Regions from separate parts of the Homo sapiens genome. Here region 1 is linked to region 2. Evidence: promoter capture Hi-C in human tissues and cell types (Jung and others, 2019). All regions are on one chromosome and are shown on one strand. Each heading gives the region's core, a stretch centred on a gene start or on the middle of the fragment in contact. The rest is flanking DNA. Distances are from core to core; before and after follow the strand shown.

Region 1 (5,109 bases), core at 1,708-4,207, 280 kb before region 2:
GCCCAGCTGGAGAAAGGGGTGTAGCCTTCTCTGACACCACAGACCCATGGTTTGTCCTATGAGCAAGGTCATTGCCTACCTTGGGAGTTTTTGGGAAAAGGAGATTAAAGAGTGAGATGCTACTGATATCCCTCAAGTGACAGGGGTAAAACCAGCTCTCTCTGATCAGGTCTGAGCCAACCCTAGTGCTGAGGACTGAAGGCTCCTCATTTCTGGAGACTCAGAGTCCCCGACACCAGACTCTCCCATACCAGCCCCACGCCTGCCATTCCAGGCCCAGCCTCTTCAAAACACAGCACCCCAAAGCCGAAGGAGCCTTCACACTCACTCCATCCAGTCTCTGGGGCCCATTTCACAGGTAGGAAAACTGAAGCACAGAAAGTGCCACCAGACAGCAGCAAAGAGAGAGTGAACATAACAGAAATTTCTGAGACAACAGGCCTGACTTCAAATTCCAGCTCCCACTTCAGTGCCCAAGGCGGGGTCTCCTTTAACGTCTGGAAAATGTTCATCTCCCACCTCTCTGCATCTAGCCCAGGGTCCTGCACACATTTGTTTGCCTTAGTTCCTCTACCTGCAAAATGGTCTGTAAAAATGGATCACAGCAAAGTTTAAATTAGAAAATCCATGTAAAGCCCCTAGCACATAGTAGGTACCCAAGAAGCAATAGGTGAGACCTTTTCAAAAAAAAAAAAGGAAGAAAGAAGAGGAAGAGGAGGAAAAAGAAGAAGAGGAAGAAGAAGAAGAAGGAGGAGGAGGAGGAGGAGAAGGAGGAGGAGGGGAGGAAGTGGAGGAGGATGGGAGGAGGAGCAGGAGGAGGAGGAGGGAGAAGTGTTTAGCATGCAGCTTCGTCTTGAACAGCGAGGGCACCCGGCCCGTACTCTGCACTTTGCACACATCCCCTCATTTCACAGTCTCCCCCAAGCGAAGAGAATCATTCTCCCCATCTCCCCAAAAAGCAATAGGTGCTTCTTGGGTACCTACTATGTGTTAGGGGCTTACATTCTGAGAGCTCAATAGAGGACCAAGGCTGTCCTGACCCAAATCCCCAGATATTGCATCTCCGTGGGCAGAACAGCCCCTGCCTACACCAGCATACCTGCTGCCAACTGAGCTCTGGTGGCTGAGCTTCCGAGCCACAAGGTAGCTCTGAAGAGGAGGCAGGTGCAGCCTCAGTTAGCAGGAAGCCCCTGAGAAGCTCCTGTCTCCTCCCCTATTAATTGCATTGGCATCTGGAACAGATGGGGTGCTGGGACTTTCCCCCCATCTTTCACAGAACTCTGAACCAGGACATAAGCCATGTAATTAAAAGAAGAGAAATGCAAAATAATCCTCTTAGTGAGACTTAACCATCCTCCCTCCCTTTTAAATCTATTAATGAACTGTAATTGCAAAGACAGACCCTTTATTGAAACCTGGTAATCAATTCACTATGGAGCAAAGAGGTTCCCAAGACCTAAAGATGATAAGAAATGTATATTAATTAGCTTAGTTCTTTATCTGTATAAAAATCAAGCAAACAAAAATATTGGCTGCAAAGCAATTTGCCATCTGCCAATAGACTCTGGCTGCCCTGGGGAGATGCTGGTTTCCTTTTTCCTGAAATTTGTTTATAACTTGCTGTTAATCAAACCTAGAGCAGAGAGATATGTGGAAATTATATGGAGACGACGGATTTCATGAGGACCTTGAGCAGACATGGGAAGAATTGCGACAAACGAGCAGCGGGAACTTGGGTTGCAAGACCCCACGATGCCAGCCCTGCCTTGCTGGGAGCTTGGCAACAGAGCCCTTTCTGAATCAGCCCCTCACAGAGAGAACGTGATCTACAGGATGGCAGGTGCCCGAGGATGGCTGTTCCAGAAGATTCCATATAGGTCGGTCTCCCTAGAAGCAGAGCCTGAGACGGAGATGTGTGGGGATGTGTGGGATTGTGGAGGGCATACCCTCAGGAGAACGGGAGTGACGGAAGCAGCAGAGGGCAGGCAAGAAGCCAGACCAGGGCATGGGCTCAACGCGAGTTCACCCCCAGCCTGAGCCCACGGGGAGCTCTGGAACGTCATCTGTGGCACCACACGGCTCTCCTGCCCTGGGCAGTGAGATAGATTTTTTTGAACCCTGTGTCATTAGCTGAAGGTCACCGTGTGGGGAGAGTTTAACCTCTTAGCCTTTGCAAGGTGAGTCTGCAGTCAGCGCTCTTGAGCTGAGGTTAATACTCACTGCAGCCAGAAAGAATTGGTGCCCTGGTCAGTCAAGAGGATCTGGGTGGGTACCAGCTGTCACGCCTGTTATGGCTTGGGTTGTGTCCTCCAAATATTTATATGTCGAAAGCCTAATCCCTAGCACCTCAGAATGTGGCCTCATTTGGAAATAGGGCCTTTACAAAGAAAGGCAATCAATTTAAAATGAGGTCATTGGGGTGGGCCCCAATTCAATATAACTAGTGTCCTTGTAAAAAGGGGAAACCTGGACGTAGAGACACACATACCAAGAGAATGCCATATGAAGATGGGAGCAGCAATTGGGTAACGCTTCTACAAGCCAAGGGACGCCGAAGATTGCCAGCCATCCATCCCCGAGAAGCTAGGGGAAGACATGGAACGTATTCTTCCTCACAGCCCTCAGAAGGAACTCACATTGCTGGCACCTTAAATGGGGACTTCTAGCCTCCAGAACTATGAGGGAACACAATACATTCTGTCCTTGAAGCCCCTCGGTTTGTGACACATCGTTATGGCAGCTTTAGCAAACTAAAAGCCCATCTGTGACTCCAGCCACCACCAACATCTGCTGATTCTGCCCACCCCACCAGAAGGCTCGCCTCTGATAATAGCCTCCTTATTTCCCTGGAGAAACCCTCTCGGTCCTAAGGGGTCCTGCAGAAATCACCCCACCCCAGATGGAGGGGTAGCCAGAACCCCAGGTCTAGCCAATCAGAGCCTTGCTTCCCCAGCCACAGTGACTGGTTCAGGCATGAGCACATGACCCAATCTGAGCCAATCAGGCTGAATTCCGGCCCTGTCCGTGGAATCAGAGACCACAGGGTGTGAGCGTGGAACCATGGAGCCATCTAGAGGAGAGAGCCTGTCTGTGTGTGAGGCTGGCATGGTGGAGACCAGAGCCAAGAATGGAGACCTGATGATATCATTTAGTTAACCATAAGGCTTTCATTTCCCCCATCATCCTGATTTCTATAAATATATTTCATCCAATGTATAACTAAACTGTTTCAGATCAATTTTGGAACTTATAAATTTAAATACTACAAAAAAATAGGTTGATTCAGACTGCAGTCCAGGGCGATCTTGAATTAGGAAGTGACACTACGTTATTAAACAAAATTATAGCAATCATTTATTAAAGGTGAATTACATACTGTAAGTGCCAGGCATTAATGCATTTGTTTTATATGCATTACCTTAAACCTCACAACCACAACCCTTCCTGTGACGTGAGGCCTATGATTTCCTCATTTTTCAGTTGAAAAAACTTGTGTTACTTTCAACCAGCCATTCCTCTACCCTGATACCAAAAAAGCCAAAGACAGCACACAAAAAGAAAACTACAGACCAATATCCCTTGTTTCTTTCTTCTGCCTTCCTGTGGGTTATGTGAATAGTTTTTTTAGACTTCAATTTTGACTTATCTATACTGGTTTTGAGTATATCTCTTTGTATAGTGTCTATAGTGGTTACTGTCAGTTACATTACATTAATATATAGATAATTTATCACAGTCTACTAGTGTCATCATTTTGCCAGTTTGAGGGAAGTATAGAAAGCTTGCCTCCCTTTACCCTCCTCGTTAATAATATAAATTTCTTAACTATTTCTTCTATATACATTTAGAACCACATCAGAAAGTGCTATAATTTTTTTCAACCATCAAATACAATTTAGAAAACTTAAGAGGAGAGTAAAAGTTCATTATATTTACCCATACTTTTGCTTACTGTGTTCTTTCTTCTTCCTGGTGTTCTATGATTCCTTCTTTTACTGTTTCTTCTCCATTTAGAGAGTGTTTTAGCCATTCTTTTAGGGTACGTTTCTGTTAGCAACAAATTATCTTAGTTTTTCTTCATCTGAAAATGTCAATTTCCCCTTCATTTATGAAGGGTATTTTCCCTGAATATAGGATTCTGGGTTGACAGTTCTTTTCTTTCAGCACTTGAAAAAAATGTTGAGCCACTTCCCTCTAGCCTCCATGGTTTCTGATGAGAAATCCTTTTTTGTTCTAATATTTTTCCCCTGCAGAGAGGTTGTCATTTCTCCCTCACTGCTTTCAAGATATTTTCTTTGTCTTTAATTTTAAAAATTTTGACTATGATGTGTCTTGGTGTGAATATCTTTTGAGATTATCCTGTTTGGAGTTCACTCAGCTTCTTGAATCCGTAGGTTTGTGTCTTTTGCCAAATTTAGGAAGTTTTCAGCCATTATTTCTCTGAGTCTTTTTTCAGCCCCCACCTCCTTTTTTTTCTCTTCCTGGGATTCTGATGACATAAGTGTTAGATCTCTAGTTATAGTCCCATAGGTCCCTGGTGCTCTGTTCTTTTTTTCTCCCAGTATATTTTCTTTCTGTGGTTCAGATTGAGTAATTTATATTGTTCTGTATCCAAGATTACTGACTCTTTCCTCTGTCTCCTCCATTTGACTATTGAACCCATTCGTTAACTTTCGTTGTTTTCATTTTTGTTATTTATGGCACAGGGTATAGTCTTACCTTAGTGACTGTTCCGTGGGCACTTGAAAATAGATGTGTGTTCTTCTGTTTGGGGTAAAGTGTTCTGTATATGTCAATTAGACCCTCTTGATCAGGGATCCCCAACCCCTGGGCTGCAGACCGGTGTCGGTCTGTGGCCTATTAGGAACCAGGCTGCACAGCAGGAGGTGAGCATTAGGTGGGCAGGAATTACTGCCTGAGCCCCACCTCTTGCCAGATCAGCAGCAACATTAGATTCTCCTAGAAGTGCAAACTCTATTGTAAACTGTGCATGCGACGGATCTAGGTTGCCTGCTCCTTATGAAAATCTAACTAACACCTGATGATCTGAGATGAAACAGTTTCATCCCCAAACTATTCTCCCCACTACCCCATGTCCGTGGAAAAATT
Region 2 (4,980 bases), core at 20-2,519:
GACTTGTCCGAAATCAAATGGCTGGAAAATGGCAGAGCTAGGACATAAAGCCAGGTTTGTCCAAATCTAGCTCACAGTACTTTGCTGTGCTCTCTTCCTCAGAGGAAAGGCTTGGAGATGGCAAGCTTCAAGTCAATAAAATCCAGGAAAGGAACTCTTCCTTATCCTTCAAAGCCCTGGCTCAGTATCTTAAAACCTGTTTCCTGGGACACCTGCATCAGAATATTCTTGGGAGCTTGTAAGGATGTAGATTCCTGGAACCCCCATCCGCAAGATTCTAATTCAGTAGGTCTAAGATGGGACCTCGGATTATTTTTATGCACACAGAAGATTTTGAATCACAGGGCTGGCTCTAACAGCACCTCCTCCAAGAGCCCCCACCCCATCCCACCCCATCCCAGAGCACTTCTCTTCAGACTACAGCATTGCACTCTGGCACGAGCCACAGCTCGATCTGGGGTTTTAGTAATGTTCATGTCTTCCCTACACCAAAAATCAGACTAGATCCTTCATAGGGCTACACCTTTTTACAGGCATTTCCAGTGTTCCACTTAATCCCTTTCTACACTGTGAGCATTTTGAGAGAGGACCCTTCTCCTTGTGATTCCTGTCTTACATCTGAACAGAGTTTTTTACAATGCGTTCTCCCACCCACAATAGCATTCCTCTATTATTTCATCCAATCCTCACAACAATCCGGAAGGAGGCATATTATCCCCATTGTACCGATGAGAAAAATTCAGAGTTTCACCTGCCCAAGGTGGCCAAGCTAGGAAGTGGCAGGGCTAGGATTTGAACCTAAGTTTTCTAACTCCAAGCCCCATACTCCTGCCTCCACAGCAGCTTTCGTGTACTCTCCTCAGTGTAGGGAAGTAAGCTTTGCCTCCCTATGCCGTTACATGGTAGTGGTGATTAAATGAGATAATACCTTAAAGAGCCTGGCTCGGTGAGCACTCAATATATTATGTGAAGGGTAAACTGAGGCCAGGGAGAGTAAATATTTCCTCCAAATCAAACACCAAACTGCAGGCTGTAGACACGACTTTGGACTAGCCCCAGACTCTCCTTGTTGAGACAACAGCTTTGGCGGCCTCGCAAGCTCCGCACCCCCGGATCCCTCCGGGGCCCACACGCAGTCTAGCCAGGCGCCACCACTTGGGCAGCGAAGGAAGGAAACGCCCTTCAAAGGGACCAAGGGGGAGTGGTCACCCGGCGGGGCAGGGGCGGGGCGCAGGCGCGCGGTCGCTGGAAGATGACGTAGCCGGGGCGTCAGGCTCTGTGTTGGTTGGAGCGAGCATGTGGGTCTGCAGTACCCTGTGGCGGGTGCGAACCCCCGCCCGGCAGTGGCGGGGGCTGCTCCCAGCTTCTGGCTGTCACGGACCTGCCGCCTCCTCCTACTCCGCATCCGCCGAGCCTGCCCGGGTCCGGGCGCTTGTCTATGGGCACCACGGGGATCCAGCCAAGGTCGTCGAGTAAGAGACGGCGCCGAAGCCGGGGAAGGGGACTGGGGTTTCTGGAAGGCTTTAACACGAGCTGCGGACTGGGAAGAGAGGGACAGGGTCCGAGGAAGGGGGCAGAGAATAGCAAACCGAAGCCGAAGCCCAGGGCGTTTTTGGTAGGTCAGAAAGACCGTACTTGAAGGTAGCTGAAGACCCGAGAGGCAATTATCAGGGTATTAATGGCTGATGTTTATTGATCGAATATTGTGTCAGGCAATCCCTTGTTTAAATGGATGCTCTCATTTAATTGTCACAACAATGTTTTGGGGTAGTTATTGATTTATCCCCATTTTGCAGATGAAAACTGAGGCAGAAGAGGTAAAATCACTCGTCCAAGGTCACACAGCCAGTAAGTGACAGGGTCAGAATTCCAACCTATGTCTGACTGACCTGCGTGAGTTCTTACTATTATTATTATTATTTGGAAGAAGTTTTCAGAATACTTTTACATCCATTTGGATCTTCATGTGTCAGTAAAGAGTAGGTCATAGATCATTGTTTCCAGAGGGCAAGGGACTTGCCCAGAGTGATACCGCTAATAAGTGATTGGAACAGGAGACTGGAATCCATGGCTTCTGATTCCAAACTCATGTTTCTCTCCACTGCACCGTATATGCATCTTGGCTTGGTTAAAAAGAGCTGCTTTGGTGCCATACAGACCCAAGTATCTATATTTGGTCAAATACAGGCTCAACGTCTTAGTAGCTGTTTGGTCTTAGAGAAGTCATTCAACTTCTCGTTACTTTTATGACTTTGTCCTCCTCCTAAAATTCTGTTGGATCTTAATTCATGCTTTTTGCACGTGGTTGATAAAAATAGTATGTCAGTTGCCAACCATTGTAAATCTGCACATAAATAGCCATTCAGAAGGGCTATTGGGGCCACTGAAGTGGAGCTAAAGCAAAAGCACAGGTCTGGGAATCAAAATACTTGGGGTCAAATCCTTGTCCTAGCTTTGCATTTGGCAAGTTACTGAGGTTCTCTGAGCCTCGGTTTCATCATCTTAAAAAATGGAGACAGTACAGACAAAGTTCATAGTGGTAATCACCTAAGATCTATGTAGTGCTCTCCACCAAAAAACACCTGCATACTCTTGTGCAGTACCTTCTTTTTAACTCTTTGATTCCCAGCAAATAGTTTGATTATTTTCCAAAGGATGGGCAAATGTGGTATTACTTTAATGGTTAAAATTCAGGCTAGAGCTGGGCACGGTGGCTCACGCCTGTAATCCCAGCATTAGGGAGACTGAGGCGGGTGGATCACCTGAGGTCACGAGTTCTAGACCAGCCTGGCCAACGTGGCGAAACCCCATCTCTACTAAAAATACAAAAAAATTAGCCGGGCTTGGTGGTGGGCACCTGTAATCCCTGCTACTCAGGAGGCTGAGGCAGGAGAACCGCTTGAACCCAGGAGGCGGAGGTTGCAGTGAGTCGAGATTGCGCCACTGCACTCCAGCCTGGGCAACAGAGCGAGACTCTGTCTCAAAAAAAAAAAAAAATCAAGCTAGATGTTTTGACAGGTGGTGAGGATAAGCCTCAGATAAATTCAAGGTCATCCAATCAGCCTAGCCACATCCCGCATTATAGAAACGAAAAGAATGTCAAGAAGACACATCAGTCAGTAAACTCCAAATTGTATGTTGATCGTAGGTAATAAAGCATTGTGTCAGGGAAGACATCTCACTAAGGACTGCGTTGTAAGGAACTGGTACAGCTCTGATGAACACTCCTCCATTTCCAGGAATGTACCCCAAATGAGAACCATGTAGTGTCTCTCCCACGGACTTGTAGTTTGTGTCTGCAGCAGGACCTGCCACAAAACAGGTGCTCCTAAAATGTTAGTTCAATCTAAATCTAAATTTCCAAAAAAAGTGAACCTTTTATTAAGTTCTGCTGTGGTGATGAGGAAGGCCTGGGAAAGTTCAGCTGAATGCAGTTGCCTCCTAATTGATTCCCTCCTCTTGGAGAGCCAGAGAAGCTGGAACAGACCGGTCTGTTTGCAGATGCCACTTAGGAAAAAAAAAAGCTTCTATTATGTCCTTCTGTGGAACTTCAGTAATTTCCCTCTAGTTCAAAACATGATACTTCCAACCGGGCGCGATGGCTCATGCCTGTAATCCCTGCACTTTGGGAGGCTAACATGGGCAGATCATGGCGAAACCCTGTCTCTACTAAAAATACAAAAATTAGCTGGGCATGGGGGTGCAAGCCTGTAGTTCCAGCTACTCGGGAGGCTGAGGCAGGAGAATTGCCTGAACTGGGAGGCAGAGGTTGCAGTGAGCCGAGATCGCGCCATTGAACTTTAGCCTGGGTAACAGAGCAAGACTTCCTCTCAAAAAAAAAAAAAAAAAGATACTTCCACAAAGCATTATATTCAACTTTGGCTTCACAGCACAGTCACCATTTGTAGTGCTTTTATTTTTTGTATTTGCCCACATAAAATATCAGACAGCTTTTATTTTATATATATATTTATTTATTTATTTATTTATTTTGAGATGAGATCATGCCATGTTGCCCAGGCTGGTCTTGAACTCCTGGGCTCAAGGGATCCTCCCACCTCAGCCTCCTGAGTAGCAGGGATTGCAGGTGTGTACCACCACACCCAGCTTGACCTGTAGTGCTTTTAGAAACTACCGTATGTATTCCTAGGCCCCACTCCTGAGGTACTTAGTAGGTCTAGGATGGCTTGGAGCTTCTGTTTTTTTCAAAGCTCTCCAGGTGACTCTGCTGCCCAGGCCAGGCTTGAGAACCACTGCCTTGTGGATACAGATTGTCAGACAAGCAGTAATTCTCTCCGTGCTCCAGAAGGGCAACTTTACTTTCTGACCCAGATTCAGGCGGCTTTACTTGTTCTCGTATGGACTGAAGCCAGAGACTGGGATTCTCTTTGTAGTCATGTCTTACAAGGTTTAGGGTAACCACACTGTCACAGAAAGAATCAGGTGTCCTTTACACATCCTGGTAACTGGCTGTCTGGGTCAGGTTACACCAGGTAGGGGTCATGGGACTACCTAGAGTCTGAACAGAGCATTGTCAGAACTAGTGTGGTTTGTGATGCTTGCGCTGTGGGCCACACCTCTGCAAGCAGGAGGGAAGGAATGAGGAACAGCCTTCTCAGGTCTGAATCCTCAAAAGGAGGCCTCCAGGTTTCTCCTGTTCTCACGTCCCTGTTTTCATTCCTGTTGGCCTCCAAACATTGCAGCTGTTCTCTCCTAAGCCATTTTCCCCTGTTGCTTAGTTTCTTTCCCTTTCTTCCAAAATGGGATTCCCTAAATAAGTATTTGGGCCTTTTTTATTTAAAAGATTAAACTGTAGATCTAAGTAAAGTAAGACTGTGCAGAAGAATGACAAACATTTGAGAAATTTCAGAGTTCTCCATAGCCACTGTCCCTTGTGCAGAGTTCTAGATTCCCTATCAGATAGTTCCCAGAAACCCAGGGGCCAGGCATGGTGGCTCATGCCTGTAATCCCAGCACTTT

What was found. Contacts are between HindIII fragments. The study calls those that stand out against the background at their distance.
Region 1: a fragment that was not itself captured here is called in contact with the fragment with the promoter of MECR in region 2 in 1 of the 25 tissues and cell types used here (bladder).

The regions. Positions count from the first base shown.
Region 1 is chr1:29,511,429-29,516,537 of GRCh38, reverse strand. The region is part of intron 1 of LOC107984933 (a long non-coding RNA gene); the gene reads right to left. Among named protein-coding and RNA genes, the nearest start is that of LINC01756, 160 kb to the right of the region's middle. The HindIII fragment of the contact is 3,052 bases long and covers 1,432-4,483 here.
Region 2 is chr1:29,227,223-29,232,202 of GRCh38, reverse strand. It overlaps MECR (mitochondrial trans-2-enoyl-CoA reductase), which reads left to right and starts at 1,269. Exons shown (of 10, transcript NM_016011.5): 1 at 1,269-1,472. The coding sequence starts at 1,297. RefSeq lists enhancers at 1,258-1,367, 892-1,392, 1,393-1,893. The HindIII fragment of the contact is 4,782 bases long and covers 502-4,980 here.